3 separate regions of the Homo sapiens genome follow, and regions 1 and 2 are each linked to region 3. The links are contacts of gene promoters, found by promoter capture Hi-C in human tissues and cell types (Jung and others, 2019). All regions are on one chromosome and are shown on one strand. Each heading gives the region's core, a stretch centred on a gene start or on the middle of the fragment in contact. The rest is flanking DNA. Distances are from core to core; before and after follow the strand shown. Region 1 has its middle 28 kb from the start of SIPA1L2. Region 2 has its middle 11 kb from the start of NTPCR. Region 3 holds the start of MAP10 (microtubule associated protein 10).

Region 1 (4,347 bases), core at 1,592-4,091, 150 kb after region 3:
AGCATGAGGTGAAGAAATTAGATCCGAGTGGGAAATCTTATGTTATTTAATACTTCTCTTCGAATAAGCTGGTATGTTACCTCTGCTATTATTATTGTCAAGTTGATTGAAAACCTGTAAAAGGCATCAGTCAGGCTGTGGAAGTCTGAAAACCTGTAACAGGCATCAGTTCAGCTGTGGAAGGCTGAAAACTTGTAACAGGCATCAGTTTGGCTGTGGAAGGCTGACTTACCAAAACAGCAGCTGATTCACAACGTTTCCTGTTTTACCTAAAGTCATTTTGCTTCCTTTAATTCAGAACATGTGGCTTTTGCTGAATTAATACATCAAATTTATTTCATCTGTTAACAAGACTATAGTAGTTAATGGTGGGCAGAGGGTAGGGAAAGGATACATTTCCCCTATTGCTATCATAAAGGACTGTAGTTACCAGCTTGTTGCTGAAAGGTTCTAAGGAGAGAGGTCTGTGTTTACCCAAGTCACTATCTTTTCTTTGTGAAAATGTGTAAATGGTCAGCTCAAAGCAAAAATCTCCCAGCCCTTAAGAGTCAGCGTTGAATCTGCTCTATTCAGTGAAGATTAACTATTTGCTTATATCCCAGAAAAACTCATTTTGAAATTGCCTTAAAGAGGATAAAAATCCTGGTTAGCCACCAACGCAGCTTTATGAAATACAAACCTGGTCAGGCCAATCAAGTCCTTTTCTTTGATGAAAATAAGCCAGGGAGAACCCCAGAAAATCACTGGTATCTTAGCTTCACAGAGACTTTTATTCTGGTCTATGTATCATACGAAAATACTAGGGCTACACGAGCTAACTTAGCTCATAGTTATTATATGACCATACACATGGTGGGGAATTCATGTGCAAGAGAGGACTTTTAAAAATAGCAATACCAACTTAAAATTTCATGGCAATCATTGCTCACAGGATATTGGTTCTAGACCCAGCACTGCATAACCCCTGGATGGTGGAATGAGAGTATCCTTCATTGGTTTCGCAGTTAACACTAAGATATGTGGGGCAGAGATCTTGAAATATAGGACTATAGGAATTTATTGTGTTTTCAATAAACCGGCAACTTGAACTAAGAAAAGTACATCAAGGGCAGAGAAAATGCATAAATACAAGACAAAACAATTCTATATACATAAATGGCAGGAAAAGATTGAGGGGCTACAGTAGATAAGGAGCTGATGTCCTATCAGTAGGATAAAAAGGCTGAGTGCATCCCAAGTAGGAACCATAAAGTACTGCATCAGAACGGGACCTGAATCCATACTAACAGAATTCTGAGTCCCAGAAAAAAATGAGCTAGAGTAATTGGAGAGAGTGTACAGCATACCTCCAAACACAGTTTTAAGGAACAGTTAAAGTTTTGGCAGTATTCCGTTTCTAAAAGAAATGGCTGAGAAGTGATACTACAGGCTTCGTGAAAACAAAAGCCATTAATTATATGGTAAATTTTCCATCTTCACTGAGATGCAAAGAAAGCCACAGGGACTGAAGCTATAATATAAGAATTTATGTATTGTGCCTTTGGAATGTTATCAAACACTTTCCATTTTAGTTCCTTCTCTGAACTTGTTTAATTCAGTCCAGGAAAACTGAGATGTGATCCTGCCGAGAGCTAGAGTGGTCAAGATGATTTTCCCTGGTCCTTTCTAGATCAACGTTTGCATACCATTTTCATAGGCCTTAGGACCTTTAATTCTCAAGATATCTCCACTGTGTAGGAATTATTAGTCCCTGGTTACAGATGTGTATGCCAAATCTCAGAGAGATGAAATTTCCCCTCTGACCTTGAACTCAGATTTACCAACTGCAATTCTCATGCATTTTCAATGATGTCTTGCTGCCTACAGTTACAAGAAAATAAATGTGTCTCTTTCTCTTGTTATAAATCCTTGCAAAGAAGAGATGAACTGTGATGTGTTTCGTAAGAGAAATTGTCCCCCTAGGCTTCTTTCTCTAAGGCAGAGATCAAGATAGCATAAGCAAGTGTGCAGCCCTCAGGTTTAGGGGAAGGGCTGGTGGATGAGAGGCTTTGGAAAATTATCTAGTTCATTTTCTTCTTCTTTTCTTCAGCACAGTCTACTTCTGGATCAATCATATTATCTATTTATGGAGGACATTTAGGTGTGAGATACATAGTACCTATATCTTCCTGAAGGCTGTCTTCAGCTTCTCAATTTGGGCTGCTGTGTGTGTGTGTGTTTTTTTCCTTCATGTCTAAAGTTTAAGAGCTCAGATTTTGTCTTACTGTGTAGCATAAAGATGCTGAGTCTGATACCAACTGCCTCCATGTCACATGGCCAAGCAAATGTCACCATGATTTGTTCACTTGGAATTGATCTGAAGATATTGCAATAGGTCTTTTAAAATTGTTTCCATAATTATTTTTATGTAGAATTCAAAGTTGTCTGTTATCTATTGTGAGGAAAAATCAGTTAAAAAGAAGGATTTCATTTTTGGCAGGGAAAGCAATACAACTGGAAGTGCAATTTCATCACATTCCTGGAGAGATTATATGGTGGCCATTTCCCAATCAGCAATACAGAGGGGAATTTATTTTCTATTCAAAGCTTTCCTTTCTAATGCATATATTACAAACATTCTAAATTAAGAACAGGATCCTCTTTTGAAACCAAGAGAGTTTAGAACCAATGTCTTGCATCATTTCTCCTGAAACAGAACCTCTTCTGAATGTGTATATTGTACTGCGAGCCTCGATGTCTGCTTGCCCTCATCTGCACCTGGACTGTAGCTACTGTGAATGATGATCCTTCGAACACTGTGATCCTGGGGAGCCCTTAGAAGTGGGCTCCTGCTTCTAAGTTTACAGCAGCTTCTTTGCACTAAGAATTTATTCCCTGGGCCATCCTTTATTCTGCATTTGGGCTTAGTCTCTAGTAAGTACATAGTAGTTACCTAGTAATTTAGATTGGTGATTGACTTATCCCAATATAATATGGATCTGTACATTGCGGCTGCAAGTTTATGGGGGAAAAATGAATCACTGATTTTTTTTTTCATTTCTCCCAACTCTGAGCATCAACAATGCTTCATAGAATTTTTTTTAGGAACAGAAAATAAGCATAAATTGATTATCTTTCCCTCAGTCTTTCCTAGTTTGGGGTCAAATAAAAGACTTGCTTTTAATTTTATCTGTAGGATGTTTTTCCGTAATAATATGGATATCTCTTAGAAATGCCATAGTTCATTTGCTTGGTGGAAGCTGGTTCAATAACACCATTATATATTTATGTGGTTTTGTGGGGAAGTAAAGATCAATAGAGGTCTTTCCAGCCATGTGACTATAATGATGGTTTTCTTTTCCTGCTCTATTTATTATTTATTAAATACCTCGTTGTGAACAACACTGTCCTAGGTCTTGAATGTGATTGAATAAGAGGACTGTAGACGGGCCCAATTCGGTGTACTGATATCATTCTGAAACTTTGGATTTTATTGAAATGTGTTTAAAATTATAGAAGACATGCTTGTGGCAAACACTTTATCAGTCACTATCACGTTTCAAGATAACATTGAACCGCAAATTCAATGCAATGTGTATCTATATTCTTTGGAAATGTACCAAATTTAACTAGAAACATTCAACATTTTCTGAAGTCCTTGTGAAAAAGCACCTAGGCAGAGAAATGCTAAATGACCAAGACTAAGCTAAAGTATATCTATTTCATTGGGTCTACCCTTTCATAAACTGTGAACATTAGATATGTTTAGTGCGGATATTTTCCCAAAAAGCAAAAAGGAGAGAACTGCATTTTTACAAAATGTAAGAGAAGAAATGACATAGGGGTGGGTCTTGAATGTGCAGGTCAGAAAGCTGAGAGTCTTGTCTCAAGCATGGGAACTGTGACATGGATAAATTACTCATGGCGGTTGGGCACAGTGGCTCACACCTGCAATCCCAGCACTTTGGGAGGCTGAGGCAGGCAGATCACTTGAACCCAGGAGTTGGAGACCAGCCTGGGGAACATGATGAAATCCCATCTCTACAAAAAATACAAAAATTATCTGGGTGTGGTGGCTCATGCCTGTAGTCACAGCTACTTGTGGGGCTGAGGTGGGGGGATCACCTGAGTCCAGGAGGTCAAGGCTGCAGTGAGCCATGATCAAGCAACTGTACTCCAGCCTCGGCACCAGAATGAGACCCTGTCTCAAAAAAAAAAAAAAAAAAAATCACTCTTGGAGTCTGCCAGGATTCAGAGAACTAGACAGAGAATTTCAAAAATGGAAGAATTTCTTGAATTGGCCCCGGGCTCTTTACCACGAGTTAATGTCATCTTCCTCCTGGTAAGTGTTTGACCTGGGGAAGGAGA
Region 2 (4,558 bases), core at 67-2,566, 140 kb before region 3:
GAGATTAAAGGACTTGTCCATGTATCCATTCACAGCGATGCAGGCTGTATCCATTCACTCATCCATCCATCCATGCACAAGCATTTACATACACCGTCACAAAGCATTGCTTCGCAACAGGGATACATTCTGAAAAATGTGTCCTTTGGTGATTTTGTTGCTGTGCAAACATGGTAGAGTCTATTTGTACAAACCTAGGTGTTATAGCCTATTACACCTATGGATGTAATAGACTATAGGGTATAGCCTATTGCTAGGCCACAGGGTACAGGATATAGGCTATGCCTATTGCTCCTGGGCTACAAACTTGCACAGCATGTTACTGTACTGAATACTATGGGCAATTATAGCACAATGTTAAGTATTTGTATATCTAAATATATTTAAATACAAAAAGATATGCCAAAAACACAGTATGGTGATCTTTTTTAAAAAAAAACTAGAGACAGGGTCTCACCATGCTGCCTAGGCTGGTCTTGAACTCCTGGGCTCAAGAGATCCTCCCATCTCAGCCTCCCAAAGTGCTGGGGTTACAGGCATGAGCCACCATGCCCAATCACCCTTGTATATGTAGTCTGTCATTGGCCAAAATGCCATTATGCAGTACATGACTATATGCGTGTGTGTGTGTGTATGTGTTTGACATTTGCTTCAAACCCAGGAATTTGAGCACCAGAATCTTTTCTCTCATCCTCTACACTGTACTTCTGTTCATGGTTGCAGCTTTTTAACTTTTGTCCAGAAAACTAATTGAGGGCAATATCACAAAACAAGAAGGGTCACACAAGGACTGCAGACATGGTCCACTGGTTGCTCTTCCTTCTTCTAGGAGAACGAATTATATCATGGTGTGATAAGAGTTCTAAAATAGTTCTTATAATAGCTATGAGAACAGAAATAATGGAGGACCCTCTCTGCCTGATTTTAATCTCATTCTCCCCAGGACTTTCTAGAATAATGATTACTATCACATATGTCCTCATACGCAAGCCAACTTCAAGAATACTGGGTCAATCTGTAATCGAGGGGGCTAAGCAGGCTCACCATCTCACCCCCAAGTCACTTTGGGTGTGAGGCTGCAGGTCCTTGGAGGGAGCCTGTCATTGTCCTTGCGCTGAAGCCGAATCTGCTACATCATGAAGTATCCGTCTTCAGATGTAGGTGTAAACTCAATGGTATTTATTCAAGGTGCATTGTCTTGCCCTGTAAATCCTCTGCAGGGGAAACTAATTGCTTTTTAACTTGGTCAGACTGCATCATCACCAACATTGTTTGCAGAGTGCTGTGAGGGGAAAGTGGGCTGTGGTTTTAATTAGCTGTGTGCATCCCCACAGCAACATTGGCACCCCACACAGCCTCACTTGCCCTCTCGTATATTCCTGGTTAAGGGAATGGTTTCAGCTCCATCTGCCCAACAAGTGGATAAAGGCTTTGTGACTGAAAATTAAGGGAGAACTTTAGGAATCATTTCTTTTTCCTTTTATTGTATATCATCAGTCTTCCCAGAGGGGGCAATGTGCACTGACTCTTCTCCTGGGTTGAATTTCATCATCCCCTCTTAACACCATGTGTGGGCTCAAAACCTGTGGTGTGGATATGTGAAACATTGATTTGCATCTAACTAATAAATAACTTGTGGCATTTTAGGGCAGGTTCACTGCTAGTGAAACAGGGATTCTAGATTTTTCATTTCTATCACCCCAGTGTGGACAGATAGATAGAAATCAAGTGTCTGTCACTTATTTAATGACCTGTCCCATCGTGAGATCCCAACCTCCTGACCCCTCACCTTATTTCATAAGCAGAGTCCAAGCTGAGGCAAGAGTAGCATAAAGCTTTGCTGGGAAAAGAAGATAACTGGTGCCTCACCCTGTTCACTGCCCCACGAACCCTTACATTTGAAGATCTAAGGATAGTTGGCTGCTGGGTGTCGTGCTTGGAAGCAGTCTAGCAAGGTGCTAAGAATGTCTCCATACAACCTTAGTGCACGAGAATAGAGGTGATGGCATTGTTGTATGGGAGCAATAGGCCAATCTTTGACTTTCCTAGAGCTCCTGCTCCATATGGGGGAGATGCAAACTATTCTCATATGCCCAAGGGGACCACACTCCTCTCTGTCACAGGGCCTTTGCACATGCTGTTTCTGCCACTTTAAAGGCTCTCTCCCATATCATCTTCCCCTAGCTAACATGTATTTATCATTCCTGACCCCCTAGAACACACCAAGTGTTTCATAGTGAACAGGTCTGTGCAAACCTACCCCTAAAGGCCAAGGGAGCTGAGAAGCCAAAGAAAGAGGCTGACAAATCCAGTTTCCCATCAAGAAGCATTTACTAGGGACTTAGGAACAGAAACCTTGTCTTAGGTGGCTGCAAGATGTGATGGTGGATCCCTGCATGTTACTGCCAGACCCAGGGCTTGTATAGCATAAGGAATTTGCCTAAGGACAGGATTTATGGTAAATATGTGTTTACAGTAACATCAAGGTTGTTTTGACCTAAGAGCAGCATTCACAGTAAGTAGGTGGAAGTAGAAACCTTTTTTTTTTTTTTTTTTTGAGACGGAGTTTCGCTCTGTCGCCCAGGCTGGAGTGCAGTGGCGTGATCTCGGCTCACTGCAAGCTCTGCCTCCCGGGTTCACACCATTCTCCTGCCTCAGCCTCCCGAGTAGCTGGGACTACAGGCACCCGCCACCACGCCCGGCTAATTTTTTGTATTTTTAGTAGAGACGGGGTTTCACCGTGTTAGCCGGGATGGTCTCGATCTCCTGACCTTGTGATCCGCCCGCTTCCGCCTCCCAAAGTGCTGGGATTACAGGCTTGAGCCACCGCGCCCGGCAGGAAGTAGAAATCTTAGAGGTATTCCTGGAATGAGTGTTAATCAGAAGTCAACATGGCGGATGGATGAACATCCAAGATGGAGCTGCTTTTGCCTCCACACCAAGCGTCCTGTAGCCTCCTGAACTTCTAGTTCATTTCACTTATGATTGTAATTGAATGATGAGTTGTTTAAATTTATTTAATGACTTCCACTTCTGCTAAAATGAAAAAACCTTCATGAGAGAGGAACTAAATGAGGTTTATTCACTACTCAATTCCCAGTATCTAGATGTTCAATTAATGCTTGCTAATTAAATGAATTTCTAAACTCCGTAGTTCATTTTTCAGTGGAACATTTTTGAACTCCTCCTTTGTGTTAAAGGTCTTTGGGGGAAAAAATTACAAACGTATAGTAGCAGTCTACTGCACACACTAGCACTCTGAACAGATAGAATTGCAGTGTCAACAATCATACCGATCACCTCTAGTAAGTACAGAGTGCTTATTAGGCATTTTTGGGTAATAAAAGACGTATACAACAGGGTCTTTGCCCTAAAAATACTTATAATCTAATTTTAAAAACACATCAATGCACATAACACAATTAGTTAATGATACAAGTAAAATCTGTATAAAAATCAACACTATGGATACCTCACACCCACTAGGGTGGCTACTATCAAAACAAACAAACAAAACCCAGAAAATAACAAGTGTTGATGAGGATACGGAGCAATTAGGACCCTTGTGCACTGAGTTAGATCTGCTTAAGGTTCATACATTGCAAGTTGGTGATGCATTTTGTATCCCGTTAATATAAAAGACCTCCTTCATCTGATCTTTTTTCCTTAGTTTCTTTGTTAAAGAAACCAGTGGTTTGTCCTGTACGGTTTTCACAGCAGATACGAACACACAGTTTTTGGTGTTTATATCACCACGGCATTGTTTAGCTTCTCCCTCTGTTCCTGTATTCCTTCTAAATTGACCCAGTGACCTGCTGGTGAGCCTAAGTGCTTGTTGCCTCTCCCTGATGTGTCGAGATACAAGTGAGGCTTGTAGAGTTTCATCATCCTCAAGTAGCAGCTTCTCCTTCTCTTATCATCATTATCAAAAAACTGAAAGTTTATCAGGCTCACTTCCTACATGCCACACACTGTGCTGAGCATGTACACATATTGTCTCATTCAACATTTCACAATAGTCTTATGAAATATCATAGTACAAATTTAACATTCATTTTAGCCGCCAAGCATCTAAACTCTTTCCTATGTTTGGGGAATTGCCCACCTTATGAATAGGAGACAGAGTTTGCCTCTTTCTGTGCCAGATAGCACATGTCCAGCCAGAGCAGAGAGACAAAGGGAGCCAAGTTCCTTGTAATTGTTTGAGCCACCGAATTACTCTCACCCAAAGCCAGCCCTGCCTCGGGGCATATGAAATTATAAAGTCTCAGTATCGTTAGAGTCCTTGGCAATCAGAAAAAAAGTCTAACTGATAGGATGGAAAGATGCTTATGAAATAATGTGGAGTACACGAAACAGCATAGGATATTACATGTGCAATGTAATTACAAGTGTATAAAAATAAAATTTAAAACAGCTGCATAAAATAATCAGAAAAAAGTCATCAGAAAGAGTAATGGTCATGTGGGTGAATTGTGGGAAAATGAGTTAAATTTCATCACAATACTTTTCTGTATGTAGTGTCTTCCAAATTATAAATAACATTTTTGAAAATATG
Region 3 (4,380 bases), core at 903-3,402:
GCTAGACAAATCATCTGAATACTTCAGTTCTGAGATGTTTTCATAGCAACTATTTTTACCTGTTCTCTTGTCACTTATATCAGCCATAAGAATGTCATTATCTGTGGTTTTGACCTGTCTAATATCTATTTCCTTATCTACAATTCTGTCAACAACAGCATCCTGTTGGAAAACACATGGACTTTGGATTTTCATTTCCACATTTCCTCCCAGAATATTTGTAGGGGTAAGCCTTTCTGGAATAATGGAATTTGCAGGACTCACAACTTCTTCCAATGAAACATTATTGATTCTATTTTTACTACAATCAACTGTCTTTTTTTCAGTTGCATATTTCAGTTTAGTTTCTTTACTTGTGCTGGGCTCATCAAAAACTCCACTGATTTGTCTTGAGGTATCACTATTTTCAGTGAAAGATGCATCTGAATCTAAATACTTATCTTCAGGCAGTTGTGGCTTCTGACTTTGTTCTGCAGAGCTTAATAGTTTAACTTTGGATGACGGAATTCTGAATTTTGTACCCAACATTTGTGATTGTCTTTTTCTATATAGTTCTCTTTTTTCATGTACCACCAACATATCAGGATTTGTCAGCTTTAAACGTAGTCTTAGTGTATTTGTTAAGCCATAAAGTAGCCTCCCTTTTGGAACTCTTTTATGGAGGGCACCACTGCTCTTTTCAGAATATTTATCTTCCTTATAGTTTTCAATTTGGTTCTTTTTATACTGAAGACTCACTGACTTTTCACATCCCCCCACAGAACGCTTATCCTTCTTGGCTTCAGACCGGCATGTGGATTTGGCAGAAGATTCGGGTGACTTCTTATCCTCAGTCCTATATAACCAGGCTAGGTGAGGATGTATATGAGCAGGACTTGTCACAGGTTGGTCATATAACAAGGACAACTCAACTAACAAAGCATTTAACAAAGGCAACTGCCTTATTGTATTAATTCGATTTTGTTCAGTTTGACATGTTTGATTAGTTGCTCCTATATTCTGAATATGTGGAGGATTTACAAGCATTGGAGGATGTTCGTGTGCTGCAGAACTTGGATGCTTTAGACAACTCCTGTGTGCTGGGGGATTTACACGCTTTTTTTCAGGAGAAGCATCATCCATTTCCTCAGGTGCATTCATTTGAGGCTCAATGGTGATTTTAGCCTGTGCAGGGGGCGGTTTTTCTTGGGTCAAGTTAGTGTAATACAAAGGAGGAGGGCAAAATATATTGGTCTCCATGTCCAATTCTGTGACTTCCTCATTTAGGGAGCTAACATTTCTCCCATTGCCAGCACCTGAACATGTAACAACAGAATTGGTTTTGCCATTCTCCACAGAACCCACATTATCACATTCGGCCTTACTTTTAACCATTTCCTTCAAATCCTTCTGTGCCTCTGGGATTTCTAACTCCCCCAGCGGCTTATCAGCCTCTTTTGGGCTTGGCTGTGAGGCTGGCTGCTGCAGCTGCTGTCTTTCCTGCTGGGTTTGGGGACTGACCTCCGCTCCTCCTCCTGTGCGGGTGAAGGTGAGGGGCCGCTCAAGTTGGCTCAGCAGGCGGCTTCCCAGGTCAGTCAGGCGGTAGGCCAGTGCAATGTCCCCAGTCCGCTCGCCCACTCGATTATGCAGGGGGAAACGTCCCCGGTGACGGTGGGAGCATCCGGAGGCGGCCGGCCCCACGACCCTGTGCGCTGCGGTGGCCAGCGAAATGTCGCAGGCCCCCAGGAGCTGTGGGGTGGGCGTCGGGCGCCCAGGGGGCAGCTGCAGCAGCAAGGTGGCAAGCGGGGTCCGCAGGAGCCGGCAGTGCAGGGTAGCAGGCTGCAGGCGGAAGAGGCAGGACTTGCCGCGACCGAAGCGGATGACACCGGGCCACGGTTCGGCGGCGGGAGCGCCGGGGCCGTCAGGAGGGTAAACCAACAGCGTGGGGAAGTCCAGCAGGCGGAAGGCCACGGCGGGGCACAGACCGCGCGGCGACGAGGCCTCCCCCTGCTCCTTTTCCTCCTCTTCCTCCTCCTGCTCCACTGCGGCAGCGGGGGACGGCAGCAGCCGGGCTTCCAAACGCACCCAGTCCACCAGCAGCTCCAGCGAGAAGAGCCGCTCGGACAGCGAGGCCGCCATTGCTGTTGCCCCAGGAAACGCCGCCGCGGGCTCCGCAAACGAGAAGCTGAAGCCCCGGGGTCTCACGAGAAACCGGAGCAAAAGGCATCGCTGCCTGCTATCTCGCGAGATTTGCGGAAGCGCTCCAGCGGGTCTCGGGCGGTGTCTGCTTTGGGGGTTTTGCTGCTCAATGTGTTTGGCCCCTTTGTATGCATACTTGTGAGCCGTTTTTTGCCACCAACCTTGTATTAAGACAATTGATGATAATGCTGAGGATATAAGTGGTAAAAGACAGTGAGTTTTTTGGGTAATGGTTTTATCACTGCAGATCTTATGTAACTTGGGGGTCAGATCAATATACCTGAGGAATATTGAAAGAAAATCAGGACTCTCCTTCCTTTCCCATGCTAAACAGAGCCAGTTAGTTAACTGTCCACAGTGGGCCATCTCTGTGTCTGCTGTTCTACCCAAAAGATGGTGACACTGCTGGGATGGCCAGGGAGCCCCTGCCTCATCAATTACAGTAGTACTGAGACAGACACACCACACACACACGGAGTGTGAATACACTGGCAAAAACTCTCCTTGGCTGAACTTTGGTCAGGCTCATCTAAGCCTTCTTTCCGACTAGGCCTTGACCTTGGCTTCCAATCCTGTGGACCCTGGATCACCGAGTTGTAGCAAAGGTCTCGCTACGGCTGTTGAGAGAGAACCCCCAACCCTTCATACCTGATTACCGTCGATACCTGATCAAATTCTTCATTTTCTATCATTGGTATCTGACCACCCTGGCCTGGCTTCAGCAAGAATCCTATTAGGCCTGCTTAATCAGAACCCTCCCACCCGTGATGTTCCCTATCAGTAAGTTTCCATCCACTTGACCTGACGCCCCCTTGGCTTTAAATCCCCACTTGTCCATGCTGTAATTGGAATTGAGCCCAGCTCTGTATTGAGGTCTCTTTTCTCTTATTGCAGTAGTTCCTGACTACAGTGTTTTTGCCACTTCAACTACTGTCTGGCCCTGTTTTTTATTTGACAACATTTCCAGCTAAGCAATCATGATGCATGAGAGTAATGTTAATGATTCCATCAATAAAACAAATGTGTGTACATAAATATACACACATCTACAGAGACACACAGAACTTGCTGCTCTATCCAGATATTTTAAGAAACATACTCCTAACCTCAATGAGCTAGCCAGCTAGGAATCCAAGGCCAGTTTTTGGAGAGCCTTGAATGCCATGGTAAAGAATTTGGACTATATTCTGTCCAAATTTTTTTGATTGAATAAGTACATCATAGCAATATTTGGAAATGTATCATGGGGAGGAATACAAAGGATGGATTCTACTAATTAGAAATTGGATTCAGAGCAATCTATTAGAAGACTACTGCAGTGGTCTAAGAGGCAGATAATTATGACCTGCACATGGTCAGGACTAGTGGAAATTAAAAAGAGGTGGCAGAAGAGGCATTTGTGATGGAGGAATTTTAAAATTTGGTGAATGGGAAAGAAAAGTCATGGGTGAAAAACTTCTGCTACTGAAGGTGAAAATATTGAGGAGGCACAGATTTGACGGAAAAAAATACTTTGAGTTTTGAGATATGTAAAGCTTGAGGTACCTGCTGCTGGGCATTATATATGTACCGCTTTATTCAGCTTTATAAATTATAGTTAAATTATATTGCTTCAGTGCTCAGAAGAACATTGTGAAGCTCAAGAGAAATTCAGAACTGGAGGGATATGATGCTTTAGTGTGAAGACGTGAGAGAGAAGTCTCATTGCAATATATAAATACAAGATACTTCTCGGACCAGATGCGGTGGCTCACGCCTGTAATCCCAGCACTTTGGGAGGCCGAGGCAGGCAGAACACGAGGTCAAGAGATCGAGGCCATCCTGGCCAACATGATGAAACCCCGTCTCTACTAAAAATACAAAAATCAGCTGGGTGTGGTGGTGCATGCCTGTAATCCCAGGTACTTGGGAGGCTGAGGCAGGAGAATCGCTTGAACCAGGGAGTTGGAGGTTGCAGTGAGTGAGCCGAGATCGCACCACTGCACTCCAGCCTGGTGACAAAGCGAGACTCCATCTAAAAAAAAAAAAAAAAATTACAAGATACTTCTCTTGGCTTTGAGAATCTTGCTATATACTTGCAGAGGACACATATCAAGCAACATCCTCAATGGATAGATGATGTAGAGCAATAAAAAAAAGACATCATCACAAGTGAAAAGCAATGAGGTATTGAGTCCATGTGCGCCAGAGAAATACAGTAGA

What was found. The method cuts DNA at HindIII sites, captures the fragments that hold promoters and counts their contacts. A contact is called where the count stands out against the background at its distance.
Region 1: a fragment that was not itself captured here is called in contact with the fragment with the promoter of MAP10 in region 3 in 1 of the 25 tissues and cell types used here (small bowel).
Region 2: a contact is called between a fragment that was not itself captured here and the fragment with the promoter of MAP10 in region 3, in 1 of the 25 tissues and cell types used here (heart left ventricle).

Annotation. Positions count from the first base shown.
Region 1 is chr1:232,655,877-232,660,223 of GRCh38, reverse strand. No RefSeq gene overlaps it. Among named protein-coding and RNA genes, the nearest start is that of SIPA1L2, 28 kb to the right of the region's middle. The HindIII fragment of the contact is 3,190 bases long and covers 1,247-4,347 here.
Region 2 is chr1:232,937,501-232,942,058 of GRCh38, reverse strand. No RefSeq gene overlaps it. Among named protein-coding and RNA genes, the nearest start is that of NTPCR, 11 kb to the left of the region's middle. The HindIII fragment of the contact is 4,223 bases long and covers 1-3,427 here.
Region 3 is chr1:232,803,188-232,807,567 of GRCh38, reverse strand. It overlaps MAP10 (microtubule associated protein 10), which reads right to left and starts at 2,152. Exons shown (of 1, transcript NM_019090.3): 1 at 1-2,152. The coding sequence starts at 2,118. RefSeq lists enhancers at 1,163-1,759, 1,969-2,048, 1,760-2,357. The HindIII fragment of the contact is 7,984 bases long and covers 1-4,380 here.